2 separate regions of the Homo sapiens genome follow, and region 2 is linked to region 1. The links are contacts of gene promoters, found by promoter capture Hi-C in human tissues and cell types (Jung and others, 2019). All regions are on one chromosome and are shown on one strand. The core of a region is centred on a gene start or on the middle of the fragment in contact, and the rest is flanking DNA. Distances in the headings are between cores, read along the strand shown.

Evidence for each region. Contacts are between HindIII fragments. The study calls those that stand out against the background at their distance.
Region 2: a fragment that was not itself captured here is called in contact with the fragment with the promoter of PHF2 in region 1 in 1 of the 25 tissues and cell types used here (spleen).

The regions. Positions count from the first base shown.
Region 1 is chr9:93,574,917-93,579,308 of GRCh38, reverse strand. PHF2 (PHD finger protein 2) reads right to left here and starts at 2,725. Exons shown (of 22, transcript NM_005392.4): 1 at 2,438-2,725. The coding sequence starts at 2,535. RefSeq lists enhancers at 936-1,085, 3,267-3,546, 3,228-3,822, 3,823-4,392 and silencers at 1,947-2,106, 2,697-2,996, 3,107-3,166. The HindIII fragment of the contact is 6,548 bases long and covers 1-3,861 here.
Region 2 is chr9:93,428,160-93,432,778 of GRCh38, reverse strand. It overlaps LOC107987097 (a long non-coding RNA gene), which reads left to right. Exons shown (of 2, transcript XR_007061670.1): 2 at 1-1,368. Among named protein-coding and RNA genes, the nearest start is that of FAM120A, 21 kb to the left of the region's middle. The HindIII fragment of the contact is 9,352 bases long and covers 1-4,619 here.

The DNA of each region.
Region 1 (4,392 bases), core at 1,476-3,975:
TTCAAACTTTTAAAAAGAGAGTTGAAATGTTAAATAGGAAGTAAATCACAGTACAGGCGGTACGAAGATCAGGAAAGAACCACCGGGGCCATACAAGACTATCTGGAGGTGGAGAAACCCCGGGGTCTGGTCACACACGTTCATTTTACTGATGAGAAAAGAAAAGTGATGCTGAGAGACCAAAGGATTTGCCCAGGGCTGTGAGAGCTGTACCAACACCACCAACCCCTGACGGCTGTCCTCCCCATCACACACCTGCCCAGAACAATTGGGGAGCAGGCACACCCAGAGGCTTTCTCCCTGTAGGGTTCACTTTGGCAGATGACTCTTGGTTAGATGCAGGAGAAAATGACTTTCATGGCCGAGGGAAAGCACAGCTTCTTTCAGACCCCACAGCCACCCCAAATAGGTGAGAATAAATCTGTGCTGATCAACTGCCTGTATTGGATTCAATCAGAGACCTCAAATAAGAAAAAAAGGAGCTAGAGCCTCCCCAGACATCCCCCTTTTGGGGATTTTTTGCATGGGCCAATACAGCAAATGACACCAACCAGCTCTCAGGCCAGCTCTCAGCCCCTGTCGCCTGCCTGCCCCTCATTCCTGGAGTTTTTCCCTTGGCCTCGAAGTCTAGTTCAGAACTAGCCTTCCCTTCCCAGAGGGTCCCCTAAGCAGCGAGACAAAGGTCTTCTCGCGTTCTCTCACTCTCCCTACTCTGGGCCCCGAGTGTGGGCAGCAGCCAGGAGCTGACACAGGTGCCCAGAAGGTTCTGTAGCAGAGTGACTGCGCTCGCCAGGTCAGGGCTCCGGTGGAGATGGGGGAGAAGGCAGAGGCCCCACCACTTTCAGGGCTTTTCAGGGCCAGCAGCTCAGCATCCCTGGATATGAGGAGCCTTAGAGGCTCTCACTCACTTTGGCCCGGCCATGAACTTCTCAACGGCTGCCAGTTGAGGGTGTGCATGTCAGCCCTGTTCTGGGCAGAGCCCGGTGTTCACACTCAGTCTCCCTTGCTCTAAGGGGCTTCCACAGCCCTGGGCATACCCAGGAAGGCAGCCCAGATTTCCGTGGGCATCCCCACCCCACAGAGTCCCAGGCCCTTCTAACAGCAGGGAGGTAGGACTCAGGACTGGGGCTGACAGACATAGCAGGCCCTGTCACATCCCAGCCACCCAGGTCCCCACATGTAAACTGGCAGGACTGGACTTGGGGCCACAGCCCACTCTTAAGCACCACTGACCAGTCTTGAAGACCCAGTCTTAGAACCTGCAGGAGGATCTCCTCTCTGGAAGGAGAATCCCGGACCACCCACCACCACACACCCCTCTCTTTCCCCCGGCTGCTTGCTGCCGGTGGTTTGGGACTGGAGCCCCAGAGGGCATACAGCCCTGGCCAGCCCCGGGTCCAAACACATCCCACAGGCAAAGTCAGATGCAAGAGAACCTGTTGGAGCAGTTTGGGCAACACTGTCACCTCCTCTTCCTCCTCCTCCATTTACTTCTTGGTGGGAAGGGACCTGCCCTAGGCATGGGGCCAGGTCATGGCCATCGGCAAGGGCCAAGAGGGCGGGGGTTTTCAGTGTCTCCAAGCGTTACCTCCTTCCCCCCTCCCCATCTTCCTTAGGGAGCATAAGATCATGTCAAAACCGGCGTTCCTGCCGGGAACGGAGAGGAGAGAAACGGGGAAAACTGAAGGCCAGGGAGGAGGTGGCAAAGCCACAACAAACCCCCCTTACCCAACTCACAGACACTATTCTGTCACCGCACTCCTGCCCGCGGACCTGCAGGCCTGCCGGGTCTAGCTGCTCCGCGGGGGTCCGGGAGGGGTCCTGCCCTCGGGGACAAGGTCCAAGGGAGCTCGCCGGCCACGGCGGAGGGTGGGCGCGCCGGCTGCCACCTCGCCGGAGCCCCCACGGACTCCCCAGCCCTGCCGGAGTCGGAGCCCGCCACTCGCGCCTCTCCCGGGACCCGCGCCGGGCTGCGCGCCCGCTTCTCCCGGCCCGGCCAACCCCGAGCCCGCGCGGGGAAAGTTCCTGCAACTTCGCAGGGGGGAGGCGGCGGGGGCTCCGGGCCTCGGCCTCCCTCCGGATGCCCGGCCTCTGCGGCCGCCGCGACCCAGCTGACAGGCGGCCCGGCCCGGGCCTGGAGCCCCAACTTCCCCGCGCCCCGAGCCCCGAGCCCACCTCCCGGCCCGCGGGCCTCGCTTTGTGCGCGGCGGCCAGGGGCGCCCAGCGCGGGCCCCGTGCTTGGCGCCCCCGCCCTGGGCACAAAAGGGCGCGCGGCCCGGCACGGCCCAGCCCCGACCGGGGCGCCCGGAATGCGGCGGCGGCGGCGGCGGCCCGTCCCCGAGCCGGGCCTGCGGGCGCGCAGCCGGGGGCGCGGGGCTCGGTCGGGCAAGGTGGCCGGGCCGGGCCGGGCCGAGCCGAGCAGCCGCCGCGCGCTCACCTGCCGTGGAACCAGTCCTTGCAGGCGTCGCACTCGATCATGAAGCGGGTAACGTCGTAGGGGAGCCGGCAGACGCAGTACACGGGCACCGTCGCCATGTTGCCGCGCCGCGCCGCCGCTCGGCCCCGCCGCTGCGCTGCCCGGGTCGGTCCGGGCCGGGCCGGGGGCCGGGCCGCGCGGGGGCGGCGGGGGCGGCGGGGCGCAGGCGGCGCCGCGGCCGGGAGGGGACGGGGACGGGGGCGCACGACAGCCCCCGCGCGCGCTCCCGGCCAGGCGCGTCCACACAATGCCGGGCGCGCTGGCTGGAGGGGCCGCGCCGGGAGCCGCCCGCCGGCCCGCGGGGCTCAGGGCGCTAGTGTGCGCGGGGGACGGGCCGCGCGCGGGACACAAAAGGGAATGGACGCGCGGGGGCGGCGGGCGGGGAGCCGCGGCCCCACCGAAGGGACCCCCGGCCGCCGAGCGGCCTCTACGTCAGCGCCCCGGGTGGCGCCGCCTCCGCCCGCCGGCCTGGGCCGCCGCTCCCGCCGCCGGGAAGGCGGGCTGGGGAACCCTGCGGGGGAGAAGGTGGGTTGGGGGACCCTGCCGGGGGAGAAGACGGCCGGGGGGACCCTGCCGGGGGAGAAGGCGGGTGGGGGGATCTCGAAGGTGGAAGATAGGCCGAGAAGGGCCCCCAAGGCTGAAGGTAGACCCAGGGGTCCGCGGGCGCGAAGGTGAGCTGGGGGAGCCTTGAGACTGAAAGTGGGGTGGGACCCCGGGGAGAAGGTGGGCGGGACCCCGAGGATAAGATAAGTTGGGGGAACCCGGGCAAGGCAGAAGGAGAGACGCGGGGTGCGGGAGTGGAGCCCGCAGGAGAGCCTTCCTAGTCTAGAAGGCCGACAAGCAAATACTTGGCCCTAACTTTCTTCTGACCCCCACCACGGTGGGGGTGTTCCTCCTCCTCGGCCGCGCTGCCTCCCTCCGTTCCCCACTGAGTTTCTGGTTGGGACACCACTTCCTCTTTCCCCTCATTTTCGGCTGGGGACTGCCGCCTCCCTCGCAGGATCCCGCGGACTTCCCTGATGCTCAGCCCCAGAGGAAGAGGACAGAAGCCCGGGCCGGGAGTGCGCTGGCACGGGCTGGTCAGCTCTGTTCCCTGGCATTTGAGCCCCCCAGGCCCGTGACCTAAGGGGCCGGGCTGGTCAGCTCTGTCAAGAGAGAGCTCCCTGGCATTTGAGCCCCCCAGGCCCGTGACCTAAGGGGCGAGGAGTATGGGAACCCTGGCCCCCGTGTCCAGGGAACTGAGCCCCCACGGTGGGGAGGAGAAGCGGAGGTGCGCTCTGAGGGGTCACTTGCACGCGTTCTAGAGGAGGACTTCCCTGCCTCGCCAGCGCTGCATCCTTGGGGCATCCGCGCTGGGCAGGGGCCACATCCCTGCCCGCCCTTCCTCCCTCACCCTCTTTCTCTCCCCATCCTCCCTCAGCAAAATCCGCATCGTGCTGGGAAATGTGGGCCACCCCTGCTCGGAATTCCAGAATCTCCGGACAGGAAACCTGGCTCAGTCTCCTAGCAGCATCCATGACAAGGCTCCTTAGCCCCTCAGCCCCTCACCATCACCGCCCACCTGCAGCTGCCAAGGGGCCGTTTGCTCCACCGCAGGCGGCTCAATTAAGGTCCTTCCTCCTACTGAGCCAAAATCTACCCTCAGAGTCAGCCACCCACCCCCAACAAGTGACCCCGTGGATACAGACTCAGGGCAGTGCCCAAAGCACTGGGCACTGGGGAAGGGGGCGGGGGGAGAAGTAGCTGGCCATAGAGGGAGAGGAAAGAGCAGGAGACCCCCAGCTCCCACACCTCTGGACTGGCCAGGATGGCCTGCAATAGGCCTTCCTACCTGAATTCCGGTTGTCACTGGTTCCCTTCCTCCTGGGTGAAAGCCTGGAATTTTTTTTTTTTTTTTTTTTTTACATACTGAAGTT
Region 2 (4,619 bases), core at 1,436-3,935, 150 kb after region 1:
CATTTTGAAAACATGTTGAAATGATTTTGTATATATATATTTTTTTTAATTAATTTTTTTTTTTTTGAGATGGAGTCTCACTCTATGGCCCAGGCTGGAGTGCAGTAGCGCAATCTTGGCTCACTGCAACCTCCACCTCCCTGGTTCAAGCAATTCTCCTGCCTCAGCCTCCTGAGTAGCTGGGACTGCAGGCATGCGCCACTATGCCCTGCTAATTTTTGTATTTTTAGTAGAGACGGAGTTTCACCATATTGGTCAGGCTGGTCTTGAACTCCTGACCTCGTGATCTACCCACCTCGGCCTCCCAAAGTGCTGGGATTACAGGCCTGAGCCACCACGCCTGGCCGAAATAATATATTTTTTAAACATTGGGCTAAATATAACATATTATTACAACTACTTCCAGTTGTTTCTTTTTATTTTAAGGTGGCTCCTGGAAAATTTTAGATGACATAGACGGTTTCTGTTCTGTGTCTGTTAGACGGTGCTCTGCAGAGAAGCAGACAGGTCATGCATAAGGACACTGAGGCCAGAATGATATCTGACCTTCAGCAGCAGCTCTAGGAAACTGAAGAAAAATGATCCCCCTATTCAGAGAGAAATAGTTTTCAACCTTAGTAGTCTACATTCTGGCAAACTTTCAGTCAACTGAAAGACAGTTAGAGACATGCAAGCACACAAAAGTTTACCTTCTTTGCTGTCTCCTTGAACGTTCCTGAAGGAAGTACCCCAGGAAATAAACTTGTAAACCAATGGCATGGAAGGCATGGGATTTAAAAGCAGGATGTCCAGTATAGGACTCGGAGCAAGTTGTGCAGCAGGTCCAGGAAGCAGACAAGCCCGTGCAGAACAGGAAGTCAGGGGGCTCAGTGGGAAGTCATGGCACCAGTGGATTTGCTGACATAGGGAGTCTTCTGGCTCATTGGAAGACACGTATGTAGACAACAAAGTTATTTTTTGAGAGGTGATAATTTAAGAAAAAAGTTGTACTCTTCCTGGCTCATGTGAACAGTATCTATATGACACAAATAATAATGTGAACTCAAAGACTGTGTGGTATGCTTACACCAGGGGAATGGGGGAGGGAGAGCAAAGTGCACTTGAGTTAGATAACATCTGTCAAGACAGGGAGAAAAAAGATAATGTCTAAAATAAATAACAGCACATGCATACTCCTTAGGAATTGGAAGGTAAATGGCAGAAGAAATGGCTTAACAATTTGTACGTGGTTTCTTGTGACTTCTTATGACTGTATAAGACCAGGGAGCAATAGGGAGGGGAGGCACAAGGGATGCTATTTTGTTTCTATTACTATTTGATTTTGTAAAACTATACACATCAATTAAAATGATAAATATTATAGTTACAGTTTTCTTGTTTTTGTTTTTATTTTTAGAAAAAACAACAACAAAAGCAAGCACAAAAAACAGCAACAGCAAAAGGCTCTATTAGACATCATTATATCCATAGTACTATGTGCGGCACTGTGGGGGATTTTTTTAAATGTAAATAACCAGCAGGCTTATATATAATGCAGCAAGTGTGAAAAGCATCACAGGTCTAATAATAATGTATGTAGATGTCAGTAAAGTATACTTTTGCTTCTAGTGCTTCACTTGCCTCATGATATCCATCAAGCTTTTGAGAAGAAAGTACAGGATCTGTTAGGTTCTTTTTTTTTTTTTTTTTGAGATAGAGTCTTGCTCTGTCTCCCAGCCTGGAGTGCAATGGCGTGGTCTTGGCTCACTGTAACCTCCGCCTCCCGGGTTGAAGCAATTCTCCTGCCTTAGCCTCCCAAGTAGCTGGGACTACAGGCACGTGCCACCATACCTGGCTAATTTTTTGTGTTTTGTGTAGAGACGGGGTTTCACCATGTTGGTCAGGCTGGTCTTGATCTCCTGATCTCAGGTGATCTGCCCACCTCGGCCTCCGAAAGTACTGGGATTACAGGCGTGAGCCACCATGCCCAGCCAAGGATCTGTTAGGTTCTTAACCTAGCAGTTTACCAGATGCATTCCTTGATCAGCCTGCATGTGTCAAACCACTGAGTACCACATGTGTCCACAAAGACACCTCTGAGAGGGGCAGGCGCTGACAAGATCCTGGAGTCAGAGGCTGGGCTGGGCTGTTGCCTGATTGACTATGCGACCCTGGATGTGCCCATCCCCATGTGCTTTGAATTCATCATGGATCACATGAGGGAGTCCACAGAGTATGCCAGATCCTTTTTGGCATCTTTCCCCAAGTCTAAATTTCTTTAGTGTCATTCATTTTTCTGATTTTGTAATTGTTTTGAGTCTATTATTGCCTTATTTTTCTGATTTTAAAGCAATATAAGCTCATTGTCAAAATTTTGTAAAATCCAGAAAAGTATGATAAAGGGAATCAGCATGCTGAGCCCTACTATTCAGCAGCAACCACCAATAACATTTTGAGATACGTATTAACCTATGAGTGTTTATAAGTGTGAATTCTAGAGAGAATATGTAGTAGCCATGAAATCATGTTTTCAACAAATATTCCAGGATATGGGAAGGCACTCATGCTTTCATTTTGAGTATAATATACATTAGTTGTAGCGTGTGTTGTGGCTATATAGTATTCTGTCTTGTGAATGAGCTGTACCATATGCTGTGAATGAACCAAATCATTATTTTGGATGTTTCCATTTGTTTTCAGTGTTTTATTATTATTGTTGCTTTTTGAGACAGGGTCTTGCTCTGTTACTCAGGCTGGAATACAGTGGTGTGATCTGGCTCACTGCAGTCTCTGCCTTCCAGTCTCAAGCAATCCTCCCACCTCAGCCTCAAGAGTAGCTGGGACCACAGGCGTGCACCACCACACCCAGTTGAATTTTTTTTTTTTTTTTTTAAGTAGAGATGGAGCTCTACCATGTTGCCCAGACTGGTCTCAAACTCCTGAGCTCAAGCAATTCCCCCTCCTTGGCCTCCCAAAGTGCTGAGATTACAGTGTGTTATTATTATAAATAACATTGTAACAAACATCACTGAGCATCAATATATTTCTGTCTACTCATTCCCTAAGGATAAATTTCCAAATTAGAATTGTCAGGTCAAAGACTCTAACTATTCTTATCTTAGTCCTTTGATGCCCATTGCCAGATTCCTCCCAGGAAAGGTGGCATCATGTCACCACCCTAATACGATGAACGGGTGTGCCTGTTTTCTGCTCTACGTATGCCAAGTGTTTTCATTTTCAAAAATTTGCACAGCTGATGGATCGAAAATGGTAGCTCTTATTTTTATTGAGATTGAGGGTTTTTGTTGTTGTTGTTTAGTTTACTTTAGTTTTGTTTTTGAGATGGGGTCTCACTCTTGCCCAGGCTAGAGTGCAGTGGCATGATTATAGCTGACTGTAGCCTCAAACTCCTGGACTCAAGCCATCCTCCCACCTTAGCCTCTCAGGTAGCTGAGACTGCAGGCATGGCTAATTTTTTTATTTTTAGCTACCATGCCTGGCTAATTTTTTTCTGTACAGATGGGGTCTTGCTATATTGCCCAGGCTGCTCTTGAACCCCTGGCCTCAAGTGATCCTCTCTTCTTGGCCTCCCACACTGTGGGCATTACAGGCATGAGCCACTGTGCCTGGCTGAGATTGAGGTTTTAATCTTTTTGGCCACATATGTGTATTTTTAAGTAAATTTCCCATTCATGTCTTTTGACACTTTTTATATTGAGGTGTTATTCTCCTATTTCAAAAAAGCTCTTTTTACATCAAGTATAATAATGCTTACCTTATATAATATGTTTTAACTATCTTTCCCAGTTTGTTGCTATCCTGTTAAAAGGATTTTTTTTTGTTTTTAATGTAGAACCTTTCTTAATTTTTATATAATCATATCAACTAAGTTTTTCCTCTATAGTTTTTTTTTTTCCTTTTATTCTTGAAGGGATATTTTTCACCTTGAGATCAGGTAAACATTTACCTATATTTTCCTCTGGTTCTTCCCTGGTGTCACTCATATTGATTAATTGATCTGGAATTTACTGTAGGTATGGTCTATCTAACTTCATTTTTTGCACCTAGTTAGCCAATGTACGAATCCTTTTACTTATTTATTTTTAAATGTTAATGTATAAAAGTAAAAGTAAAATGTTAATGTATAAAAGTAAAGAGTCTAGTGTAAGTCATTTCCACGTACCTGTCACCCAGCTTAGTAATTATCGACTTATGGCCAATTGGGATTTATCTGTGTCCCCTTCCCCTCCTACACTGGATGTTTTTAAAGCAAATTTCAGGCATCATATAATTTTCACCCACAAATATTTCAGTATGAGCTCTAAGGACTCTCTTAAATAAAGACTCTTTTAAAGGCATAACTGCACTACCATTATCATACCTAACATAATATCCGGTCATTGTTCCAATTTCTCTGATTAATACTTTATTGACTTTAAAAAATTCTTTTACCACCAAATAAAACTGAAATTCTTGCAGTAAAAACAATTTAAAACTTAGGGTGATTAAAAACAGTTGGCAACCTGGTTGATGATGGGATGGGTCAAATCAGGGGGTACAAGAACGCAGAAGGCAAACAGTTGCGTAGGATCAGAGCCAGCACAGGCAAGGACCCAGCAGGGGGCAGTAGCAGGAGGTCC